Linked DNA regions of Homo sapiens: region 2 is linked to region 1. The links are contacts of gene promoters, found by promoter capture Hi-C in blood cells and fetal thymus (Javierre and others, 2016). All regions are on one chromosome and are shown on one strand. Each heading gives the region's core, a stretch centred on a gene start or on the middle of the fragment in contact. The rest is flanking DNA. Distances are from core to core; before and after follow the strand shown.

Region 1 (4,368 bases), core at 1,230-3,729:
GGACGGAGGAGCGTCCAGGAACAGGGCAGGCAATCCCTTGGTCCTGGCAGCTGTTAAGAGGGGTCAAGCAGAAAAATGTGACTTTTCTATACTTAATTTTAATGTGGGTATGATTTTTAGGACATTGAACCTCTTTTGCTACCTACCAAAAGGAAAAAAAAAAGTTTTCTCAACTGGGTGAATAAAGAAAGATGGTTTCATATAATATTCTAACCCTGAGAAGCAAACAGATTGCACATCTAGCTGAAACAGAAAGATTTCTGAAGCGATGATTATCTTGATATGGTAAGTGAATTAGTTAAATATGGTAATTCCTAAAAAAGCACACTTGTCATTATTTTTAAATTTTTTTAAGTGGTAGGGAAAATAAATAGCAAAGCAGCCAGTAAAGTTCAAGAAAAAAAATCAGAACACACCATTCAACTCTCCATCGCTTTGAAAAAAGAAATGCCAGTAGCATTCCTACAATTGTAATTAGAAAACATGCAAGTAAACAACTCTTCAAATAGTCTTTTATAATAAAATAGAAAATGTCCTCGGGTGAAAAAGCAATTTTTGGCTGACTGCAATTCATTTAGGTTTTCACTACCATACAACTGGGTGACGAGTAAAATCTCCTATTTATTTTGCATTGTTTGGCATAGTCTCGCTCCTCTACCTTCTCCATCTAAATAGTTACCATTTTCCAAGTGGACAATGTGCAGAGAAGTTGTATGTATTAATGAATTCCTCTGCAATTTTGGTTTCACTATCAGAATTGAAGTTTGCACACAACATAGTGTCTCAACAATGATCTCAACATTCTAACGCTTTAGAATCCGTTTACCTTCTGTGTTCACCTATATCAGGATCCAATACCTGTGTGAATCTTTTCGGGTCATATTTAGACGTGCACTTTCCTGCATCTACACACACTCTCAAGTTCCTCTAGAATGTTTAAGAACTCAACTGTGTGGGATGTTAAGAAGTACGCCAGAAATAATTTCTTGGACTCCAGATAACGTACCTGCAAAAAGAGTCATTTGGTAGGATACCACAAATATCCTACTGAATTCTGAAACGTTTGTTCCTGAGTCCGACTCCCCTTCTGACCACATCTACTCAATTTTGTTTCCACCGAAGGAACGCTCCGCAGTCACAAAACTTTCATCATGATTACGGACGCACCACCTAAAATGCATGCTCAGAAGTCAAAGTCCTATGAAAATACCCTCGATGAGCATTTGGTGAATTGCTGCGTTTTTAACCCTCTTACTCTGCTCCCCTCAGCTGCACGGCCCCTAAAATCACAAGCGTTCACCGCCCAGGCTCGGGGTCTTTGACTCAGCAGAGAAGAATGTGGCTGATGAGTTATCTATTAATCCAAAAAACCTCGGCTAGAAAGATATTTCACCAAGAACTTTTAACACGGAAAGGGAGGGGGCAGGGAATAGAGGTATCTTTTAACGAGAACTTTCCCCCGAGTTTCTTCCTTAAACTGCTCCCCCCCCGACCCTGAATCCATACACAATTTCCAGCCCCGGCCCTAAGTCCTGACCCTCCGAGTCCCGATTATCTGAGGTCACCCAGGAGTCAGCTCTCGGTTCCACTTATAAATCCCGGGCAAACAAAGCTGAGCATTATACTTACAAAAGTCTCCGAAAAGTCCTTGGAGTTACGCAATTTGGGGCCCGCAGACGCGCGTGGACACAAAAACACACGCTCCCGAGATCCACCCTCCCCGGGCCACACTGTGGGGCTGCGTCCGGGGCACGGGCCATGCCTGAACCTTCTTCCACCGCCGCGCCCCGGGCCCGCGCCCCGCCGGCCGCCCGCACTGGGTCCCGCGTCGCCCCCGCCACCACACCGAGCCGCCCAGTACCTCCTCCTCCTGAAGGTTGGCCTCGCTCGGGGTGTTCTCCTTCTCGGCTTTGCCGCCGTTGTTCATCTTCCCGGTCCTTCCTCGCCGGGCCGGGCAGGGCTGGGGCGCGGGGCTGGGCGAGGGCGCGCTAGCCCACTGGAGCCTTCCCCGGGCGCCGGGGCTCCCTCGGGCGGGCGCCGCGGGCTGTGGGGCTGGAGCTGGAGCCGGGGCAGTGGCTGTCGGGCTCGGGTTGGGCTGGGGCTCCCGCGGCGAGTCTGCGACGGCGGCGGCGGGCGACTCAGGAAGTGCAAGGGAGAGACGGGGCAGGGCGCGGGCCGGGAGCGGGGCACCGAGACAATCGGGCCCCGGGAGGGCGACCTGGAGAGGGAGGGCGGGAGCCAGGGGAGGAAGGAAGAAGGAAGGAAGGAAGGAAGCAAAGGATGGGGCGAGGACGCGCGTCCCAGGAGTAAGCGCGGAGAGTTGGGGCTGGGGGCTGCAGCCGCTGGAAGGAGGGGACGGGGGTGCCTAGAGAGGAGGAGGAGGAGGAAGAGGAGGAGGAGGAGCGGGGCGGAGGAGCGCGGGCCGCGGCTGGGACGCTGGGACCCGAGAGCCGCTGAGTACGCGCTCCAGGCAGGCTCTGGGAAGTCCGGGATGGAAGCAGCTCCCTTTCTCTCGCCTTCCTCCCTCCCCTCTCCCCTCCCTCCTCTCCGCGCCTCTCCTCCTCCCTCCGCCCTCCCTGGACGTGGGCTGCCGGCTGCAGCCCGGAGGGACGGGGCGCGGGACGGAGCCCCCCGCGGGAGGAGGGGCCGGCGGCCGGATGGCGCGCGCCGGGGAGGGGCAGCGGGCCGCGGGCGGAAGCGGCGACCCCAGCCCCCGACTCAGCGGCTGGTCGGAGGGCGAGGGCCCGGGAGGCCGAGGGCAGGGAGGTCGGGTCCCGCCGTTCCCTTGGCCCCCGGGGGCCCCGGCGTCTGCGCGCCCCGGGACTTCGGGGACCCTGCCCCGCCGGGGCCTGGACCGGGACCTGGGATGTGTGCGACTTTTAGTTTGCCGGCTTTTACCGAGGGATTTGCACCCCTGGCCCTAAGCCCACCCTTCCCGAGCCAGACCCGGTTCTTCCTCTGCTGCTTGAATGACAGCATGAGAACTCGAGGGACACCGGGGACAGCCCACTCCGGGCCGGCTTTTTCAGGACAGGGCTTCAAACCCATCTCCAGCGCGGGTCCTGCGACGCGCCCGGAGCCTTCCCCGCTTCGCTTCCTGAGCGTCCCGCGGCCCCCCGACTCCTCTCCCAACTCTCACCAGACTGTTCTGGGATTGTTTACCTGGCCTCTCCCTCACCCTTCAGAAAGCTCCTTCCTGGAAGAAAAAAAAAAATCCTGCCCTATTTATCTTTTTAATCCCACGGCTATTTAAACGGGCTAAGGGGTATATAGCAGGCACTCAATAAATATTTGTTGGCAAAGTGAATATTCCTTATTGCAGGCAGAGCTGGGGGTCCGTACGGAGGAACTTCAGAGGCTGGAAGCACGCTTGAAAAAGAAAGGGGGCCTGGGCTTTGCACCAGCTTCAGGATTGCGTACTTGTTTCCTCATCCGTGAAATGGGAGCAGCTGAATGTGTCTCCTCGAGTTTTCGAGGTGATTATAGGTTGATAGAGCTATATACAGCACCCAGCATTTATTCTTGCTTCGTTTAGGTTTACAATACATGGAAGCTAACATTATTATTAAGAAAACTTCTATTTTTCCAGGGCCTTAGAAAGCGTTTCCAATACTCGATCATTTAAGCTTATGGTTTTTTGGTTTTTTTTTTTTTTAGAAAAATGAGGGTCTCACTTTGTTGCTCAGGCTGAGCTCGAGCTCCTGGCCTCAAGTGATCCTCCTGCTTTTGGCCTCCCAAACTGATGGGATTACAACGTGGAGCCACCGTGTTAAACTCTTAGATTTGACTGCTACAAAGGTATAAATGTGGAACTCCATATATCAGTGGGTTCTGCCCCACTTCTTCCTCCCAGGAATTCTCCATCCCAGCCTGCTGCTCCTGTCTTGCACCGGTAACAGTTTCCAACTACAGTATTTGCTTAACTGTTTCTCCCCACCCCCACCAGACATTCTTTATACTTGGTTTAAGTGCTGCTGGGGATAGGGCGGGGGTGGCTGTGGGAGTTGCAGATAAGGACCCTCCCTTTAGGGAGTTTAAAGTGGTATGGTGGCTCACACTTGGAATCTCAGCACTTAAGGAGATAGAGGAAAGAGGATTGCTTGAGCCCAGGAGTTCAAGACCTGCCTGGGCAACATAGTGAGACTCTGTTCTCCACAGAGGGGAAAAAAAGAAAAGACAAAAAAATAAAGTGGTATGGAGCCAAGATACTCTCAGAATCCTCTTTCCGATTATAGAAAGCAAGGAAAATATTTGCTTTAAGGGCATTATGAGGAGAAAAACAGTAGTGATACTTGGATTTACATATTGGATTTATCTTGGGGGTTTGGAGATTTTGAAACAGGAAGATTTCCATAAGGAAAACATGTT
Region 2 (4,765 bases), core at 1,811-4,310, 1.0 Mb after region 1:
AAGAGACAGGTTTCCAGGAGAGCAGGCTGTCAAATGCCCAGTACCTTACCAGCATTACCCTGTCCCCGGTTCCTCTTTGGCCTTTGAGGATCTCTGCTGAGGGCATCCGAGGGCACCCCTCCATGTAGGCACCGAGAAGGGAAAACTTCATGATCTGTCTCCCTGATGCCAGGCACAGAGCCTGGCTGTCAGAACCAGTCCTCATAGGCCTTTGTGCAGGGGACTTTCATCACTTACAGACGAGGAGGAGGCTCCGAGAGGTTCAGGAGGCCCGGGCTGCACAGGTGATACATGCTCAGGGTGGGGTGCAACCTCATGGCAGAGCCTGTGCCCTTTCGGAACTTCACTCCAGTGCCCTGTTCCATACCCTCAGCAATGGAGACAACATCCTCTCAGCTGCTCTGGGCTCTTCCTGCTTCTCCAGCCCTGAGGGCCACTCTGCTCTGTGACCGTGGGGCCTGCCCTGGCACTCCTGGGCCACCCAACCATTCACTTTTGAGTGCAGGCGATAGCTTGTCTGTCTTGGTGGTGAGTTTTTGCAGGACACCACCTGTGTCTAACATGTTGTTTTAAAATGTGTTTTAATAGCTCAAATTATGTAATAGACAAAAGGATCATGTACTTAGAATTTTTTCAAATCCTAGAGAAGTATATAGAGTAACAAGTGATGGCTTGGGATACAAGTGATCAACCACTGTTAATGAATGAGTTTCCCTTCCACTTTCTCCGAAAGGGAGCATGGACTGAAGTTTCCCATCACAGAAGCCCCTGAAGGACTTCAGCTGCAGACAGATATTTCCTTCCTCTTCCCTCATCCTCTAATTACTGCATTTTGGGCAGCAGTGGTGGCAGCCGAATAAGGAAAGGGGTTTATGATGGGAGGGAGGGGGTGCTTCTGTGATGAAGTGGCTGCCGAGGCCACCAGCATGACCGAGGCTGACGGTACCAGCCCCACCAGCAGGTTTTCCATCCAGGGAGGCTGGTCACTGTGACTCAGCAGGAACAAGGGCCTGTGACCAGAGAGAGATCCATTTATATCCTGAGGGAGGGAGAGGAGGGGAATAGAGAAGCCTCCGGTCAGAGAGGAAAAAATGTACACCCTGTTTCTATAAGCCTCATGATGTGGTAGAGAACCGTTTCCTTCCTCTCAGTAGGAAGCAGTCTTTAGGGTTGGGATTTGGCGCAAGTGACTGACTCACCGTCACATGTCTGCACATTGGAAAATTTCTATCAATGGCCCTAGGGCACAGAGGTCCTATGTCACTGTCATGAAGACCGCAAAGGTAGCGACATCCAGGACTGTTGGCCAAATTGTCATTGGAGTCAGTTGAATGGGTTTGTTGGAATGGTGGTTCTCCAACGCACAGGCCCTACTGAATCAATTGAATCCATTTCTGGCCCTACAGACACTGTAAAATAAAAATAAAAGCAGGGCCATACATTGATAGCACTGTGGATTGGAAGTTGGCCGCAAAAGGAAGTCCCAGAGATCACAAGAAAGCCAGAGATAGGGCTTGAAAGGTTGTCTTTTTGGATGGCCTCCCTGTGGCCTCTCCCTGTATCCCACCTGCCTCCACCCCTCCTAGATAGGAGCACTCACCCTACCCCAGCTCAGCTGGCCATTTATCATCATCTTCTTTTTTTATTTAAAAGATCTCCCTTCTCTGGAAGATGATCCCACAGATAACCATTCCAGGGCTTACCCACTCTCAGGTCAGGAAATACTCCCTTGCCCCAAACCTGTACATAGCATGAGGGGTTTATTTAGATTTAAGCCCGTTTTCCTCTTGTTCTGGTCTCTTGGTGACGGAACAGCTATTCATGAGGACGTGCAATGGACATCTGTTCCATTGCTGAGATCCAGAAGAGTTTGTACCAGGGTCATTTTTTCCCTTCTTTCTCACATTGGAGAACCTCCCCTGAGGAAGGGCTGGAATCAGGGGTGGCAGGTGTCTCTACAGGTACTTAGTGTCCTTGGAAGCCCAGCGTGACCTTTGCTTCTCTATTTTGTCATTGTCCTGAGGAGCTACTCCACAGTCACTTCTGCACATCCCCCTGCACGTCTTCCTTTGTATGTCTACCTCTCTAACCCAAGTCTTGTCCATAAAGCTTATCCTTCCAGCTTTGCTGCAGTCCTGACGAGTGTGTCCTCTGCATCTCTGGAAACCACTCCATGGCCATTCTCTAGGTCCACAGCGCCACCTAGTGGCCAATATGGAGCACGCCAGCCCCTGCCTTCCTAGCAGTCCGCCTGAGTCTGTAGGAGTCGAGTTCTTTCTGACTTCCTGCTGGCTTAGTGACCCCATTAACCTGAGCTTCTTTCTCCTTTACAGGCGGCTATGAGAGGTTTTCCTCCGAGTACCCAGAATTCTGTTCTAAAACCAAGGCCCTGGCAGCCATCCCACCCCCGGTTCCCCCCAGTGCCACAGAGCCCTTGGACCTGGGCTGCAGCTCCTGTGGGACCCCACTACACGACCAGGTAGACTCGGGGGGCAGGGCTTGGAAGTGGGGGGCAGGAACAGCGTAGGGGCCAGTGGATGCCTTCTTTTCAGAGTTCTGACGGTGTTTTTTGTCTTTGCTTTTGAGACAGTCTTGCTCTGTCACCCAGGAGTGCAGTGGTGTGATCATAGCTTACTGCAGCCTCGAACTCCTGGGCTCAAGGGATCCTCCCTGGTAGCTGGGACTACAGGTGGCACTACCATGCCTGGCTAATTTTAAAAGGTTTTTGGTAGAGATGGGGGGGGGGGGTCTTGCTATGTTGCCCAGGCTGGTCTTGAACTCCTGGCCTCAAGTGATCCTCCTGCTTTGGCCTCCCAAAGTGTTGGGATCACAGGCGTGAGCCACTGCATCCAATCCTGAGATTTTTTTAAGTCTTTGAATGTTATGCCTCAATTTGGGGAGAATGCGGTGAACCCGGAGTATTGGGGTGGGATGTTAGGTAGGACCTATTTACTTCTTGGAAATCTTCCCCTTCCCTCTCTAAATATCCTCCTAAGAAAAAAGTCTAAAGACATGACTCCCTGGCTTGGCCTCTAACGTCGTGTCCGGACAAGTGAGGAGGCCTCCAGAAGCCCTGGGGGACCTGCTCTCTGGGAAGCTGAGGTCATTCTCCTCTGAAGTAGCAGGCCATGAAATACATCTCAGTCCCCGACAGGCAGGCTGCTCCCACGTATCAGCCGAATGAACATAGATGGTCACCCACCCTCCCTCCAAGAAAACCTGCTTGAGCCACTGTGTTTCTTATAAGCCCACCCTCCAGCCCTTTCAGTTAGATGGACTCTGCTGCCCACATCTCATGTGCTAAATTTAAGCCACTGTTGCCTCATTTTGCCAAGATCCTCTCTCTTGTCTGTGTGGCCATGAGGGCATCAGCTTATTTATTTGTTTATTTTTAGAGACAGAGTCTCACTCTGTTACCCAGGCTTGAGTCCTGTGGCGCAATCATAGCTCACTGCAGCTTCAAAGTCCTGGGCTCAAATGATCCTCCCATTTCAGCCTCCCAAGCAACTGAGACTACAGGTGTGCACCATCATGCCAGCTTCATTGTTTGAGAGATGAGGTCTCACTGTGTTGCCCATGCTGGTCTTGGAACTCCTGGCTCACATGATCCTGCCACCTCAGCCTCCTAAAGTGCTGAGATTACAGGTGTGAGCCACTGCACACCTGTTTTTGATATGCCCAGTGAATACATATCAAAACAAATAAGTATCTAAACCACACAGCAAATGGCTTGATGATTAGCAGATATAAACTCAGTGTCACAGATGGTGCCATAAGGCCGGCATTGTCCTGCCGCTTATTTTGCCATGGGGGAGGTGCAGGAGAGTCCCACAAGACTTTACCTGCCCTGGCCTCTCTGCTCACAAGTAGAGGGCAAAGGCTGGAGAAGTCCCACTGGGCCTATCACCCCTCCAAGAGTTCCAGGAGGCTACAGGGGGAGGCTGGGAGGGCCAGGCCCAGCAGGCATTCTCCCTGGGTTTGGAAAGGAAAGCTCTTCTCAGACAAGCTTCCACTCCCTGTGCCAAGCACTTTACCCTCATGTCATTCAGGGGCCTTTGTTTCCCTTTCTGTGCAGGGGGGTCCTGTGGAGATCCTTCCCTTCCTCTACCTCGGCAGTGCCTACCATGCTGCCCGGAGAGACATGCTGGACGCCCTGGGCATCACGGCTCTGTTGAATGTCTCCTCGGACTGCCCAAACCACTTTGAAGGACACTATCAGTACAAGTGCATCCCAGTGGAAGATAACCACAAGGCCGACATCAGCTCCTGGTTCATGGAAGCCATAGAGTACATCGGTAGGCTGGCCCTGCTCTGGGGTTCCTGGGTTTGAGGGCGGGTGGGAAGGATAAGGAACCCCTGTAAGCCTGGGTTGAAGGTGGACATTGGAGGCACTGAATCCAAGGGTCCCCATTCCCCCTCTTCCTCATTGGGAAGGCTTATACATTGGATGTTGGGTTGGGAGGGAGGAGGGAAGATGGACCTACACACAGGCTTAGCTTGCAGAGCCAGTCCCCTTCCCCTTGCATGGCTTCAGTGCCTAGATGGTAAGAGTTTTTGGACGGGGAGGAAGACACAAGGAGCATTGAGTCATAGTTTTTATTTTATTTCTATTTATTTATTTATTTTGAGACAGAGCCTTGCTCTGTTGCCCAGGCTGGAGTGCAGTGGCGCCATCTCAGCTCACTGCAACCTCCGCTTCTGGGGTGCAAGTGATTCTCCTGCCTCAGCCTCTGGAGTAGCTGGGACTACAAGTGCACCACCACGC

What was found. Contacts are between HindIII fragments. The CHiCAGO score rates a contact against its expected background, and 5 or more counts as called.
Region 2: a fragment that was not itself captured here is called in contact with the fragment with the promoter of RBPMS in region 1 in 5 of 17 cell types (naive B cells, M2 macrophages, M0 macrophages and 2 more); the score reaches 9.5 in naive B cells.

Annotation. Positions count from the first base shown.
Region 1 is chr8:30,382,652-30,387,019 of GRCh38, reverse strand. It overlaps RBPMS (RNA binding protein, mRNA processing factor), which reads right to left and starts at 2,479. Exons shown (of 9, transcript NM_001008710.3): 1 at 1,862-2,479. The coding sequence starts at 1,927. It overlaps RBPMS-AS1 (RBPMS antisense RNA 1), which reads left to right and starts at 1,619. Exons shown (of 3, transcript NR_046205.1): 1 at 1,619-1,876; 2 at 3,323-3,476. RefSeq lists enhancers at 1,350-2,021, 2,022-2,692. The HindIII fragment of the contact is 8,815 bases long and covers 1-3,628 here.
Region 2 is chr8:29,337,812-29,342,576 of GRCh38, reverse strand. It overlaps DUSP4 (dual specificity phosphatase 4), which reads left to right. Exons shown (of 4, transcript NM_001394.7): 2 at 2,334-2,479; 3 at 4,076-4,295. Among named protein-coding and RNA genes, the nearest start is that of DUSP4, 10 kb to the left of the region's middle. RefSeq lists an enhancer at 2,071-2,365. The HindIII fragment of the contact is 1,897 bases long and covers 2,112-4,008 here.